Linked DNA regions of Homo sapiens: all the other regions are linked to region 4. The links are contacts of gene promoters, found by promoter capture Hi-C in blood cells and fetal thymus (Javierre and others, 2016). All regions are on one chromosome and are shown on one strand. Each heading gives the region's core, a stretch centred on a gene start or on the middle of the fragment in contact. The rest is flanking DNA. Distances are from core to core; before and after follow the strand shown. Region 1 holds the start of PURB (purine rich element binding protein B). Region 2 holds the start of CCM2 (CCM2 scaffold protein). Region 3 overlaps H2AZ2 (H2A.Z variant histone 2). Region 4 holds the start of YKT6 (YKT6 vesicular SNARE protein).

The links. Contacts are between HindIII fragments. The CHiCAGO score rates a contact against its expected background, and 5 or more counts as called.
Region 1: a contact is called between the fragment with the promoter of PURB here and the fragment with the promoter of YKT6 in region 4, in 4 of 17 cell types (fetal thymus, non-activated CD4 T cells, naive CD4 T cells and 1 more). The highest score is 7.6, in fetal thymus.
Region 2: a contact is called between the fragment with the promoter of CCM2 here and the fragment with the promoter of YKT6 in region 4, in 2 of 17 cell types (fetal thymus and total B cells). The highest score is 8.7, in fetal thymus.
Region 3: a contact is called between a fragment that was not itself captured here and the fragment with the promoter of YKT6 in region 4, in 1 of 17 cell types (fetal thymus). The highest score is 5.2, in fetal thymus.

Annotation. Positions count from the first base shown.
Region 1 is chr7:44,883,601-44,886,992 of GRCh38, reverse strand. PURB (purine rich element binding protein B) reads left to right here and starts at 1,463. Exons shown (of 1, transcript NM_033224.5): 1 at 1,463-3,392. The coding sequence starts at 1,645. The coding sequence ends at 2,583. RefSeq lists enhancers at 1,034-1,283, 1,432-2,391 and silencers at 1,274-1,633, 1,924-1,973. The HindIII fragment of the contact is 4,558 bases long and covers 1-2,513 here.
Region 2 is chr7:44,998,471-45,001,632 of GRCh38, reverse strand. CCM2 (CCM2 scaffold protein) reads right to left here and starts at 1,432. Exons shown (of 10, transcript NM_031443.4): 1 at 1,270-1,432. The coding sequence starts at 1,299. It overlaps LOC102723334 (a long non-coding RNA gene), which reads left to right and starts at 1,625. Exons shown (of 4, transcript XR_428139.4): 1 at 1,625-1,915; 2 at 2,260-2,353. RefSeq lists silencers at 956-1,485, 2,116-2,165. The HindIII fragment of the contact is 6,187 bases long and covers 1-3,162 here.
Region 3 is chr7:44,841,998-44,845,093 of GRCh38, reverse strand. H2AZ2 (H2A.Z variant histone 2) reads left to right here. Exons shown (of 5, transcript NM_012412.5): 2 at 1,740-1,817. Among named protein-coding and RNA genes, the nearest start is that of H2AZ2, 4.5 kb to the left of the region's middle. The HindIII fragment of the contact is 2,973 bases long and covers 27-2,999 here.
Region 4 is chr7:44,199,499-44,202,522 of GRCh38, reverse strand. YKT6 (YKT6 vesicular SNARE protein) reads right to left here and starts at 1,545. Exons shown (of 7, transcript NM_006555.4): 1 at 1,284-1,545. The coding sequence starts at 1,387. RefSeq lists a silencer at 1,369-1,438. The HindIII fragment of the contact is 756 bases long and covers 899-1,654 here.

The DNA of each region.
Region 1 (3,392 bases), core at 214-2,713, 680 kb before region 4:
ATGATGAATAATGTTGAGCACTGTTTCATGTGCTTACTGGCTTTTTTGACGAAGTGTCTGTTAAAATCTTTCACCTTTTATATTGGGTTATCTATTATTTGTGTTCTTTACAAGTCCATTGTTGGATTCACTATCTATGAATAACTACATTTAGGCTGGGTGTGGTGGCTCACATCTGTAATCCCAGCACTTTGGGAGGCTGAGGCGGGCAGATCACCTGAGGTCAGGAGTTCAAGACCAGCCTGGCCAACATTGTGGAACCCCATCTCTACTAAAAATACAAAAATTAGCCGGGTGTGGTGGCGGTTGCCTGTAATCCCAGCTACTCAGGAGGCTGAGGTAGGAGAATTGCTTGAACCCGGGAGGTGGAGGGTGTAATGAGCTAAAATCACGCCACTGCACTCCAGCCTGGGTGACAGAGCAAGACTCAAAAAAAAAAAAAAAAAAATTTAAGGATGAGGACATTTTGGCTTTGGAAAATCAAGTAACTGGTCAAGGTCACAGATTCAAACCCAGTGCAGTTGCAGAGCCTACACTTTTTAACACTATTCCAATTCTGCCTCTTGTTACACCTCAATGCTTACAACAAAAAGACCTCATAGGAATTATTCATTTTATTGATAAAGAAACTAAAGATTGGCAGTCAATTTCCTTAACCACTTTAATATGGCTAACTGTGGGGACAGTTAACTGATCTCTGGATCCCAAATCTAACCTCATCCTAAATCATCTTCTTTCTATATTGTTCCCACAGTGATCTTTCCAAAATGTGAACCTGATCACATACGGTGGCTCCAGACTCTGGGGTAGGCACTAACTCTCCCGCACTGCAAATGGCTTTCCTTGATCTAATCCACCCTCCAGTGTCATCTACGACCATTCTTCAGGCATACACACCCCCAGCTGCTCTGAGCTCCCAGCATCAGGCCCTGGGTGCCTCTGCACTGCCGTCTCCTATGCTGGGTGGCTCTTCTCCAGAGTTGCCAGGCCAACTGCAGTTTGCCCTTCAGAGTCAGCTCATGCCTCCTCTAGGGAACCCCACAGGCTGGTCAGAACCCGCTTCCGAGTGCTCCAAAGGATCTCCCTCCCCCCGGTCGCCAGTGTATAGACTGGAACTCTGTTCCCAGCACACAACCAGCGCGAGCAGGCTGGGGCCTGAGTATGCTCAGCTAACGCCCCGGAAGCGAGAAGGAGGGAAGTGGACGACACCGGAGTCTAAAGTAAAAGTGTCACGGGAAGAGGCGCGTAGACAGACGCAGCGGGCGGCTGAGTCACGCTAAGGCTGGCAAGTCCCCAGGGCTAGAAACCGAGCAGTAACACTAGCCTACTCTCAGCTTGCCGCCCGCCCGGCGCGGCCCCTGACGTCACCCCTCTGCGCCACGCCGCCGCGGCGCTTCCGGCCGCGAGGCCGCGGAGGGCGGGACGGAGTGACTTCACGGGAAATCGCGCGCCGGAAGTGGCTAGGGCTGCACGGAAGTCGCGGGGGCGGGGCGCGGAGGCGATGGGGGGGCGGCGGCGGCCGGCGATGAGCGGCGGGAGCGCGTGAGCGAGCCGGGCGGGCGAGGCTGGGGGGCCCCGGAGCGCGAGCCGGAGGGCGGGGGCGCGAGCGCGGCGGGCGGTGGCGGCGAGGCGGCGGCCTAGAAGATGGCGGACGGCGACAGCGGCAGCGAGCGCGGCGGCGGCGGTGGGCCGTGCGGGTTCCAGCCCGCGTCCCGCGGCGGCGGCGAGCAAGAGACGCAGGAGCTGGCCTCGAAGCGGCTGGACATCCAGAACAAGCGCTTCTACTTAGATGTGAAGCAGAACGCCAAGGGCCGCTTCCTCAAGATCGCCGAGGTGGGCGCGGGCGGTTCCAAGAGCCGCCTCACGCTGTCCATGGCGGTGGCCGCCGAGTTCCGCGACTCGCTGGGCGACTTCATAGAACACTACGCGCAGCTGGGCCCTAGCAGCCCCGAGCAGCTGGCGGCTGGCGCCGAGGAGGGCGGCGGGCCGCGGCGCGCGCTCAAGAGCGAATTCTTGGTGCGTGAGAACCGCAAGTACTACCTGGACCTCAAGGAGAACCAGCGCGGCCGCTTCCTGCGCATCCGCCAAACGGTCAACCGCGGCGGTGGCGGCTTCGGCGCGGGCCCCGGGCCGGGCGGCTTGCAGAGCGGCCAGACCATCGCGCTGCCTGCGCAGGGCCTCATCGAGTTCCGCGACGCGCTGGCGAAGCTCATAGACGACTACGGAGGCGAGGACGACGAGCTGGCAGGCGGCCCGGGAGGCGGCGCCGGGGGCCCAGGGGGCGGCCTGTATGGAGAGCTCCCGGAGGGCACCTCCATCACCGTGGACTCCAAGCGCTTCTTCTTCGATGTGGGCTGCAACAAATACGGGGTGTTTCTGCGAGTGAGCGAGGTGAAGCCGTCCTACCGCAATGCCATCACCGTACCCTTCAAAGCCTGGGGCAAGTTCGGAGGCGCCTTTTGCCGGTATGCGGATGAGATGAAAGAAATCCAGGAACGACAGAGGGATAAGCTTTATGAGCGACGTGGTGGGGGCAGCGGCGGCGGCGAAGAGTCAGAGGGTGAGGAGGTGGATGAGGATTGAAACGGGCAGCTTCCCCTACAGGCCTCCACCCAACCACCATCCCCTTGGCTAGAGAATTCCCTTTCCTGCTCATCCCCAGTGAGCTAGTGGAGAGGGAGCAAGGGAGGCCGCAGAGGGAAAAAACAAAACGTAACACAGTTAAGAGAAATAATCGTAAGAGAACAGTGACGGACAACTTGAGAAAAGCAGTCAAGTTCCAAGGAACTGACAGCAACCTGCAAAGAGGAAAACAGCATCTCCTCACCTGCGTAAAATTGTCTCAGCTTCTGTTGTTTCTCAACTGAGGTTCGTAAACCCATCAGGATAATCCCTGGAGGGAATAGATCCTTGCACATCCAGGGCAAGAAACATGTCCAAGTTACCCAGACCATTGATAACAGTTGCATTTAGGTTGCACCTGGGTAATCTGGCATAAAAGATCTCTCTAGGCCTCACTGTTGCGGTGTCTATCCCTTCACCTCCATTGAAATCAGCATTTTGGATCTAGGTCTTCATGGAATCCTTGAGAAGAGAGGCCTTTACAATTACCCAGTTCTGAGGGTTCAGGTTCACGAAAAGAAATGCAACTTGGGATAATCATGAACAGGTTAAAGATAAGATTTCAAGAAGCCATCTAAGAATACAGAACCAAATTGGATCCATTTTTTTAAAAAAATGGTTTTGCATGGAACCTGGACCAAGGCAAATGTCTTTTCTTCGCAGAATTGTTTTCCAGGATGCCAGTGGATTCAGATAGCAATGCTTGGAGTAGAATCCGTTACTAAAATAGTTTCAAAGTTGACAAAAAATTTTCAAAGATAAAAGCAGTT
Region 2 (3,162 bases), core at 183-2,682, 800 kb before region 4:
TGAGGTCATCAGTCCTTAGCGCGCTCTTGGATCCCGGCATTCCACAGAGCACATGGCTCACTTTCCGCAAAGCTCAGCATCATCCACACTCGGGCCTGATGGTCCCTACTAAGCAGCCACCGGGTTAGCACCTCTCCTTTCCAGCTAACTCCTTTTACACTGCTTGGCTCCTCCCTCTTCTGTGCGCAGCACGCATCTCTAATCTAACACCTGCAGGCTGAATCACTATCTTGAGCTATTTTCCAGACTTAAAACATCTTTGTAGATAACCGCAAATTATACTGCACCTAAATTAGACATGCATGGTGCTAACATGAAACAATGAGTTGAGAAAGTAGAGAACCAGCACCACAGGACTCCCTGAAGGCCACCTGGCTACATTCTATTTCAAACAGGACTTTTAAATGGGGCACTCTGTCAAACAAGGTGGTGAGTAGCTGTCAATTAAAGGACACTTCCCTGCAGAGTTCAGGGTAGTAAAATCATAGTTAGGAATTATCGAGGTCTGCTTTAAACTTGTGGATAAAAGTGCGCACACACACATCAAAAAGAAAATGATAGCCAAGACGTGAAGATTATAAAGCATTTATTTGAAAAAGATACATTTTATTAAAATCCATTTTCCACTTTAATGGTAGTTCAATCCACATCGTTTTTCCAGTCTTAAAATGTTTCTTTATCGACTACTATAACCCTTTACTGTAATTAAAGCCACATTTTGTAAAACTACATAAACTGGGGTTTGACTATGAACTATGTCCTAAATCCCACTGCCAAATGTAGCTAGCGTCACTAAAATCAATCAATGGTTTTAGGTCTGAGTGATAGTGGACGAGTGAGCTGGCCATAAGGTGAAGGCCACCCTTGCTTTTACTGGATATCCAAAAACGAAGTCCAGTGAGCAGCAAACGTCTCCACGTTAACCACACAGCCCACTAGCTCCAGTTCCAGCCCTGGACAGCTTTCTGGCCCCTCGCCGGGCCCACTTCCTCTGCAGCCCCAGGTCCCGACGCGCAGGGAAGGCCGTCTGGGGCCGAGGTCGGGGCGAGCCGCTGCCCGGGCCAGAGGAAAGGCGCGGCGCTTCCTGCCCGCCCGGCCGCGAAAGCCCACCTGACCATTGTCCGGGGTCTCGCCCTGCCCCGCCCCGCCCCGCCAGCTGGCCCACTGCCCCCCCCCCCGGGCCCCAAGGAACACCCGCCCACCCCACCCTGGCCCCTCAACCCAGCCGCCCGCCGACCACAGCAGTAGGACGCCCCCGCGCACGCTCACCTTCTTGCCCTTCTTGCCCTCCTCTTCCATATCGCCGCGTGCGGCTCCCGCGGCCCGCCCGGCCCGCCCCGGGAGCCCCGCCGCCAGCAGCCGCTACATGCTCGACCCGGGCCCGCCGCCCCCGCGCTCCCGGCGCCGCCCGCCAGCCGGGCCCGAAGTCTCCGCCCCGGCCGCGCCCCACACCCGCACTTCCGGGCCCGAGCCCCCTCCGCCCCGCCCAGGCCCCACCTTCCCCAGCGCAGGCCCCGCCCACGGTTGTCGCTCATCCTCACTTTCAGGCCCAAGGGAATCCGACCCGCAGCGATCAGACCCCGCCCCTTCAGGGAGAACACGGCCCGTTGGCCCCGCTCACGGCGAGAGCACCGCCCACAGGCTGAAGATCCTGCCCCTTCAGGACGGCCGAGAACGCGCCTGCCTTGCACCACCCCCACCCCGCCCCGCGTCCTTCAGGAGAGCCGGAAACGCTCCTACCCCTACTTCGCTTCTGCACGGCCGCGAGAACGCACCTGTCCAGCCCCCTGTTCGCTCCGCCCACTCAGCGCGCGCGGGAGCGCGCGCGGGAGCAGCTCCAACTTTTTCAATTTGCCGCCATCTTTACGGCGGCCGACTTCCCAGCCTGCCTCGCGTCCAGGGAGGCGGAGCTCAGGTCTCTGAAAAGGGGACGGGGGGCGGGGGACGGGGGACGGGGGCCGGCGGGAGGGGACGCGGCCGGCAGATGGCGAAGGAGGGGCGCGAGGAGGCGGCCACTGTTGAGGGGCGGGGCGTCCCGCCGAGAGTCTGGGTGCGGTGCGGTTTTCTTTTTTCTTGTGTCCCACTTTATTCCCTGAGCCACAGGGAATCCGTTTTCTAGTACTTCTCTGTTATAAAGTCTGCCTGCCTTAGACAAACACATTTGGAAAATAGAAGTGCAACCACAAGGATGTGCAGACCCTATCAGAATAAAATCGTAGAACCTTACCAGTCATCCGGTATAATTTCCACATTTTCCAGATGAGGTCCGGGGAATGAGGTGATTCGCCCAAAAGCACACTACAAATTGGAGTCACCAGCAGGTCTGCTATTTTGCCACTAAACCAATCTGCCGGTAAGAACTTTGTAGCACAGCTAGAATGTAAACTGTGTTTTTTTGGTGGTTTTTTTTTTTTTTTGAGACGGAGCCTTGCTCTGTCGCCCAGGCTGGAGTGCCAGTGGCGTGGATCTCGGCTCACTGCAAGCTCTGCCTCGCGGGTTCACGCCGTTCTCCTGCCTCAGCCTCCCGAGTAGCTGGGACTACAGGCGCCAGCCACCACACCTGGCTAATTTTTGTATTTTTAGTAGAGACGGGGTTTCACCATGGTCTGGATCTCCTGACCTGGTGATCCGCCCACCTCGGCCTCCCAAAGTGCTGGGATTACAGGCGTGAGCCACCGCGCCCGGCCTAATAATTCTTTATATTAAACTTTTCTTTACTGTGTTTCTGTCTCCTGACTGGGCCTATGTTATACTGATATTCAAAAGAAATACTTGGTCTCTAGACCTCTCCAAAGGCATAAGTATTCCATTCTCTGCAAGATAAAGCAGAGATAGTGGAAACACCCTTTCAATCTGCCTTCTGCAATAATCCAGCTTGCCACATTTACACACGCAAATGATGTAGCGCATCTGGTTGTCATTATTTTCCCACCATTCACAGAACAAAGGCCTGATATTTAAAGTCTTCCACCGTCTTCCACAAATGCATATTTATCACTCCATAATACAGTAAACAACACTACTAAAACTTCTCTTAGCCTAACTCTGGATGTGCTGACTTCCTCAGGCTGTTCTTATCCATCAGAATACCTTTGCCCTGTCTTTGCATACACAGGTTCATGCTTCAAGCAAAAGTCCACTGGCTAATGATCAGATGGTGAT
Region 3 (3,096 bases), core at 264-2,763, 640 kb before region 4:
CAAAGGGGATATGCCATTTCAAAGCTTACCATCTATTTTGAAAGAATAGCCCCTCAAACAGCCAATCTTGTAAACTGATTTCTTTTTTTAACAGTAAAGAAATAATCTGTTTAAATGGTAAAAGCAAAATATATGAGAGAAAATTAGTTTTCTTAAGTCAGACCTTTAGTATTTCCTCCCGAGAGGCAAATAACATTTCTAATTTATTGTGTCACCTACTAGAAATACATGTGTACACATATACTCTATAATACCCCATATTTACTTAAAAGCTCATTACATTGGCACATACTTTGCCTTTTTCATGCAGAAATAGGTTTTTTTAAAGCGTACAGTTCAGTGGCATTAAGTACATTTATAGTGTGCAACCATCACTGCCTTCTGCCTCTAGAACTTTTTCATCTTCCCAAGTGGAAACTCTACCCATTCAACAATAACTCGGCCAGGCGCAGTGGCTCACGCCTGTAATCCCAGTACTTTGGGAGGATGAGACAGGCAGATCACTTGAGGTCAGGAGTTCAAGACCAGCCTGGCCAACATGCAGAAACCTTGTTGGTACTAAAAATACAAAAATTAGCAGGGCATGGTGGCGCGCACCTATACTACCAGCTACTTAGGAGGCTGAGGCAGGAGAATCACTTGAACCCAGGAGGCAGCTACCCCTGGCAACCACAAATCTGCTTTCTGACCATGAACTTTACTATTTTAGGGACCTCATAAGTAGAATCATACAGTATTTGTCTTTTTTGTAACTGGCTTATTTTCCTTAGCATAATGTCCTCAAGGCCCATTCATGTTGTAGCTTGTGTCAGAATTTCCTTTTTAAAGCTGAATACTATTCCATTATATGTATATCATTTTGTTCATCCATCATTGGACACTCAAGATTGTTTCTACCTTTTGGCTATTCTGAATAATGCTTCTGTGAACGTGGGTATACATGTATTTGTTTGAATCCTTGCTTTCAATTTTTAGGTGTATACCTAGAAGTGGAATTGCTAGACTATATGACAATTCTGTGTTTAATTTTTTGAGGTTTTTTTTTTTTTTCTTGGAACATGCTTTATTTTTCTGAGAGCTAAGTTCTAAATATTTCTGTGGAAGTAATATATGTTACATTGACATTGATAAAAATTGTGAAATATTTCATGTATGCATAAAAGTTATATTGACTTGCAAGATTCTTTAATCTGGAAATTGATAAATATGTTTGTTTTTAAAAATCTCATATTTTTCAGCCTGGCACTGTGGCTTATGCCTGTAATCCCAGCACTTTGGGAGGCCTAGGCGGGCGGATCACTTGAGGTCAGGAGTTCAAGACCAGCTTGGCCAACATAGTGAAACCCACCTCTACTAAAAATACAAAAATTAGCCATGTGTGGTGGTGTGCGCCTGTAATCTCAGCTACTCAGGAGGCTGAGGCAGGAGAATCGCTTGAGCCCAGGAGGTGGAGTTTGCAGTGAGTCAAGGTCGCACCACTGCACTCCAGCCTGGGCAACAGAGCTAGACTCCATCTCAAGAAAAAAGAAAAATATTTTAAATAAGTGTTTAAGGTTTGATTTCTTTGATAGAAATTATAAAAGGTGATAGAATCCCATGTATATTTACAAATGAGGAAGGGGATCACCTACATATTGTTAACTACCTAAAGTAAAACTAGAAAAAATTCTGTTTCCAGAATATTTTTGAAGTAGTATTTTCAACTCTTTTCATTCAAAAAAATTTTTTTTTGCATTTAGGCTGGAGGCAAAGCTGGAAAGGACAGTGGGAAGGCCAAGGCTAAGGCAGTATCTCGCTCACAGAGAGCTGGGCTACAGGTAATGAATCCATGCTGTCATTACATTATTATTTTCTTTACTGTTGTAATTTATGACCTATGTTTCATCAATTACAAAAATCTACTTGTATTACTACAGACTTTTTTTTTTTTTTTTTTTTTTTTTTTTTTTTTTTTTTGAGACAGAGTCTCACTCTGTCGTCAGGCTGGAGTGCAGTGGTGCAATCTCGGCTCACTGCAACCTCTGCCTCCTGGATTCAAGCGATTCTCCTGCCTCAGGCTCCCACATAGCTGGGACTGCAGGCGTGCGCCACCATACCCAGCTAGTTTTTGTATTTTTAGTAGAGACGGGATTTCACCATGTTGGCCAAGATGGTCTCAATCTCTTGACCTCGTGATCTGCCTGCCTCAGCCTCCCAGAGGGCTGGAATTACAGGCATGAGCCACCGCGCCTGGCTGAGAAACCCTTTTAATCAGGAAGGCTAAGCTGTAAACTGTTATCCTCTTGGCAGTGGTAAGCCATTGAGAGTTTGAGCCAGAGGACAACATTATCCAGATGATACCGAAAGAAGGGGGATGGGAACTTAAACTGATATGCACATTCTGTATTTTAGGTCTCCATGTATATTCCCAATTAGAATTTATTTTAAGGCATACTTAATTTGAAGTAGAAAATGGAAGGCCAATGGAGGTTTTTGCAGTGGTTTAGGAATAAAGTAACATACTTGAATGGGAAGGAGTAGAAAGCATGTGTGTGCAGAAAATAGGTGAAGCAGTATAAGGTTGAGAGAAAGTCACAGGTTTCTCTAAGGCTTAGAACCTAAGGAACAGAGGAGTTTGTAGTAGGGGCAAGTTATGAGTAAATTTAAATGGAATCATTTTGAAGTTCACTAAAACATCCATGTGAAAATGTCCAGAAGTTGGAAACATGAGTTCAGCTTTCTAATAGAGGTGATAGAATTAGGAATTTGAGATCATTTATGTAAAATGGATAGTTTATGTTATGGATGAGTTTCCTAACCTAAGAGAATGAGAAAGGAGCACAGGGACGTTGGTGGACCCCTGAAAAACTTTAAGAAAAGGCTGAGGAGTAGTCAGACTTGGTATGAGAACTCTGAAGTCTAAGATGAAATGTTTTTGAGGGCCTACTGTATGCCAGACAACATACTGGTTACTAAGGATACAAAGGAAAAGAAGACATAAATCTTGCCCTTAAGAAGCTTTTGGTCACTTAGAGATGAAGTATAAATGCAAAAAAAAGATTGCTTGTTTTTATTAAGGAAGTAAAATGTCACTGCTGGCCTTCAAAGGTCAAGTTA
Region 4 (3,024 bases), core at 296-2,795:
TATGATTCCATTTATCTAAGGTCGCCAGAAAAGTCAAAATCACAGAGACAAATTAGAATGGCAGTTGCCATGGGCTGGGGGAGAAGGGAATGTGTTTAATAGACACGAATTTGATAAAAAGGAGTTCTGGAGACGATTGACAGTGATGGCTGCACAACACTATCAATCTATTTCATATCAATGCACTCACTACACGCTTAAAGATAGTGAAGATAAATTTTGTGTACCATTTTACCACAATTAAAAATATTTTTTTAAAAGAACTCAAAGAAGCAGAAAGTTTCAACAAAATAACATTTTTTTTTTTTTACATCCAGCAAGTCCTTGGCAAAGAACTCTCATCAAGAACCAGCTGCACTGAAGCAGGGAAAACAGAATCCAAACGGCAGATTCCATCAGATTTTGAGACAAGATGACCATAGATACCGACCATGTAGGGTCCTCCTTCTTTCGTGCCTGAGTCACCCCAATCCCTCCCACGAATGGTCTGGAAGTGTCTGTGTTACTTCTAACACGTTCCAGCAATTAAAGCGCCCCAGAAACAAGTAAAAGCCTGTAAGCCCTACAGATCCCATGCTTCATTTGCATCTTCCGTGTGGAATCCTTTTGTACCACTAGTGTCCAACTAAAAAGCGTTAAACCTGGCTTTCAGTTCTAGCTGGTTGTGATATAACCTCTTGGTACCTCAGTGACTTCACCCATTAAAAACAAACAAAAAAAAGTATATCACTATCTCTCATACAGAATTGTTGGGAAGCCCCGCAAGAAAATCAAAATATGGCTCTCAAGATGCGGCACCCAAGCTCCCAGAGTCAGAATCACTGGGTGGGAAGTGTTGGTCTAAAATATAAATACCGAGGCCTCAATCTACTAATTCAGAACATCTTGGCATGAAGCTTGGAAATCTGCACTACTTCACAGTCTCCTTAAAATTTTTACACGACAGAAATTTGAAAAACACTGAGTAGAGAACTATATTCTAGAATGGTATAAGCTCTTAAAGAGCTAATGTTGGTTCCTCAAAGGTAGAGTCCACGGCCAGATTCCATTATAGGAGACCAAGCCCGGACAGCAGACCCCGGGCCCTCCCCACCCCGCCCCGCCTCTGACTCGGACACCAGCCTTCTCAGACCCCGGGCACTCGGCCACCCCGCCCTGCCCCTACCCTTGGCCTCCTCCACCCTCCCCTCATCCCTCCGCCGACCCCAGGCCCACTCCGACTCGGACCCCCACCCCAGTCCTCTCCGCCCGACCGCCACGGCCCACCAGCCTGTGCCGCTCACCTGGATCTCTGGAAAAAGCTGAAGGAAGACACATCGTATGCGGCTTTGAGCAGCACCACCTTGGCCTCGCCTTTGTAGAGGACGCTGAGGCTGTACAGCTTCATGGCTCCGCGCCCTCAGGCCGCCCGCCTGCCCAGCTGCGGGACCCGTTCTCAGGGAGCAGCGCGGCCGCCGCCCCTCGGGACCGCCGCCGCCTACCGGCCTCTCAGCAGCCGGCTGCTGACGGGGCCACCGCCGGCTTCCTCCTCCTGGCTCGCAATCCACTTCCGGATCCGGTCAGCCTGGTTGAGGGTTCTCATACTCCGGATGCAGAAATGTGAGCCCGGAAGTACAATGCAGCGAGGGGCGGGATGCCACGCCTCGCGTAAGCTTGGCCCCTCCCTGCTCGCCAGGTGGAGTCGGGCGCGCGGCGGGATACCGTACTGTCTTGTGCTGGGTGGTGCTGGGCCTCCCACAGCGGCCTGAACCCTTCTTTTTTTTTTTTTTCTTTTCTTTCTTTTTTTAAAGTAAGCATTTTTTTTATTATTATACTTTAAGTTTTAGGGTACATGTGCACAACGTGCAGGTTTGTTACATATGTATACATGTGCCATGTTGGTGTGCTGCACCCATTAACTCGTCATTTAGCATTAAGTATATCTCCTAATGCTATCCCTCCCCCCTCCCCCCACCCCACAACAGTCCCCGGTGTGTGATGTTCGCCTTCCTGTGTCCATGTGTTCTTATTGTTCAATTCCCACCTATGAGTGAGAACATGCGGTGTTTGGTTTTTTGTCCTTGCAATAGTTTGCTGAGAATGATGGTTTCCAGCTTCATCCATGTCCCTACAAAGGACATGAACTCATCATTTTTTATGGCTGCATAGTATTCCATGGTGTATATGTGCCACATTTTAGGAGGAGCTTGTACCATTCCTTCTGAAACTATTCCAATCAAAAGAAAAAGAGAGAATCCTCCCTAACTCATTTTATGAGGCCAGCATCATCCTGATACCAAAGGGTGGCAGAGAGAGACACAACAAAAAAAGAATTTTAGACCAATATCCTTGATGAACATTGAAGCAAAAATCCTCAGTAAAATACTGGCAAACCGAATCCAGCAACACATCAAAAAGCTTATCCACCATGATCAAGTGGGCTTCATCCCTGGGATGCAAGGCTGGTTCAACATACGAAAATCAGTAAACGTAATCCAGCATATAAACAGAACCAAAGACAAAAACCACATGATTATCTCAATAGATGCAGAAAAGGCCTTTGACAAAATTCAACAACCCTCATGCTAAAAACTCTCAATAAATTAGGTATTGATGGGACGTATCTCAAAATAATAAGAGCTATCTATGACAAACCCACAGCCAATATCATACTGAATGGACAAAAACTGGAAGCATTCCCTTTGAAAACTGGCACAAGACTGGGATGCCCTCTCTCACCACTCCTTTTCAACATAGTGTTGGAAGTTCTGGCCAGGGCAATCAGGTAGGAGAAGGAAATAAAGGGTATTCAATTAAGAAAAGAGGAAGTCAAATTGTCCCTGTTTGCAGATGACATGATTGTATATCTAGAAAACCCCATCGTCTCAGCCCAAAATCTCCTTAAGCTGATAAGCAACTTCAGCAAAGTCTCAGGATACAAAATCAATGTGCAAAAATCACAAGCAGTCTTATACACCAATAACAGACAGAGAGCCAAATCATGAGTGAACTCCCATTCACAATTGCTTCAAAGAGAATAAAATA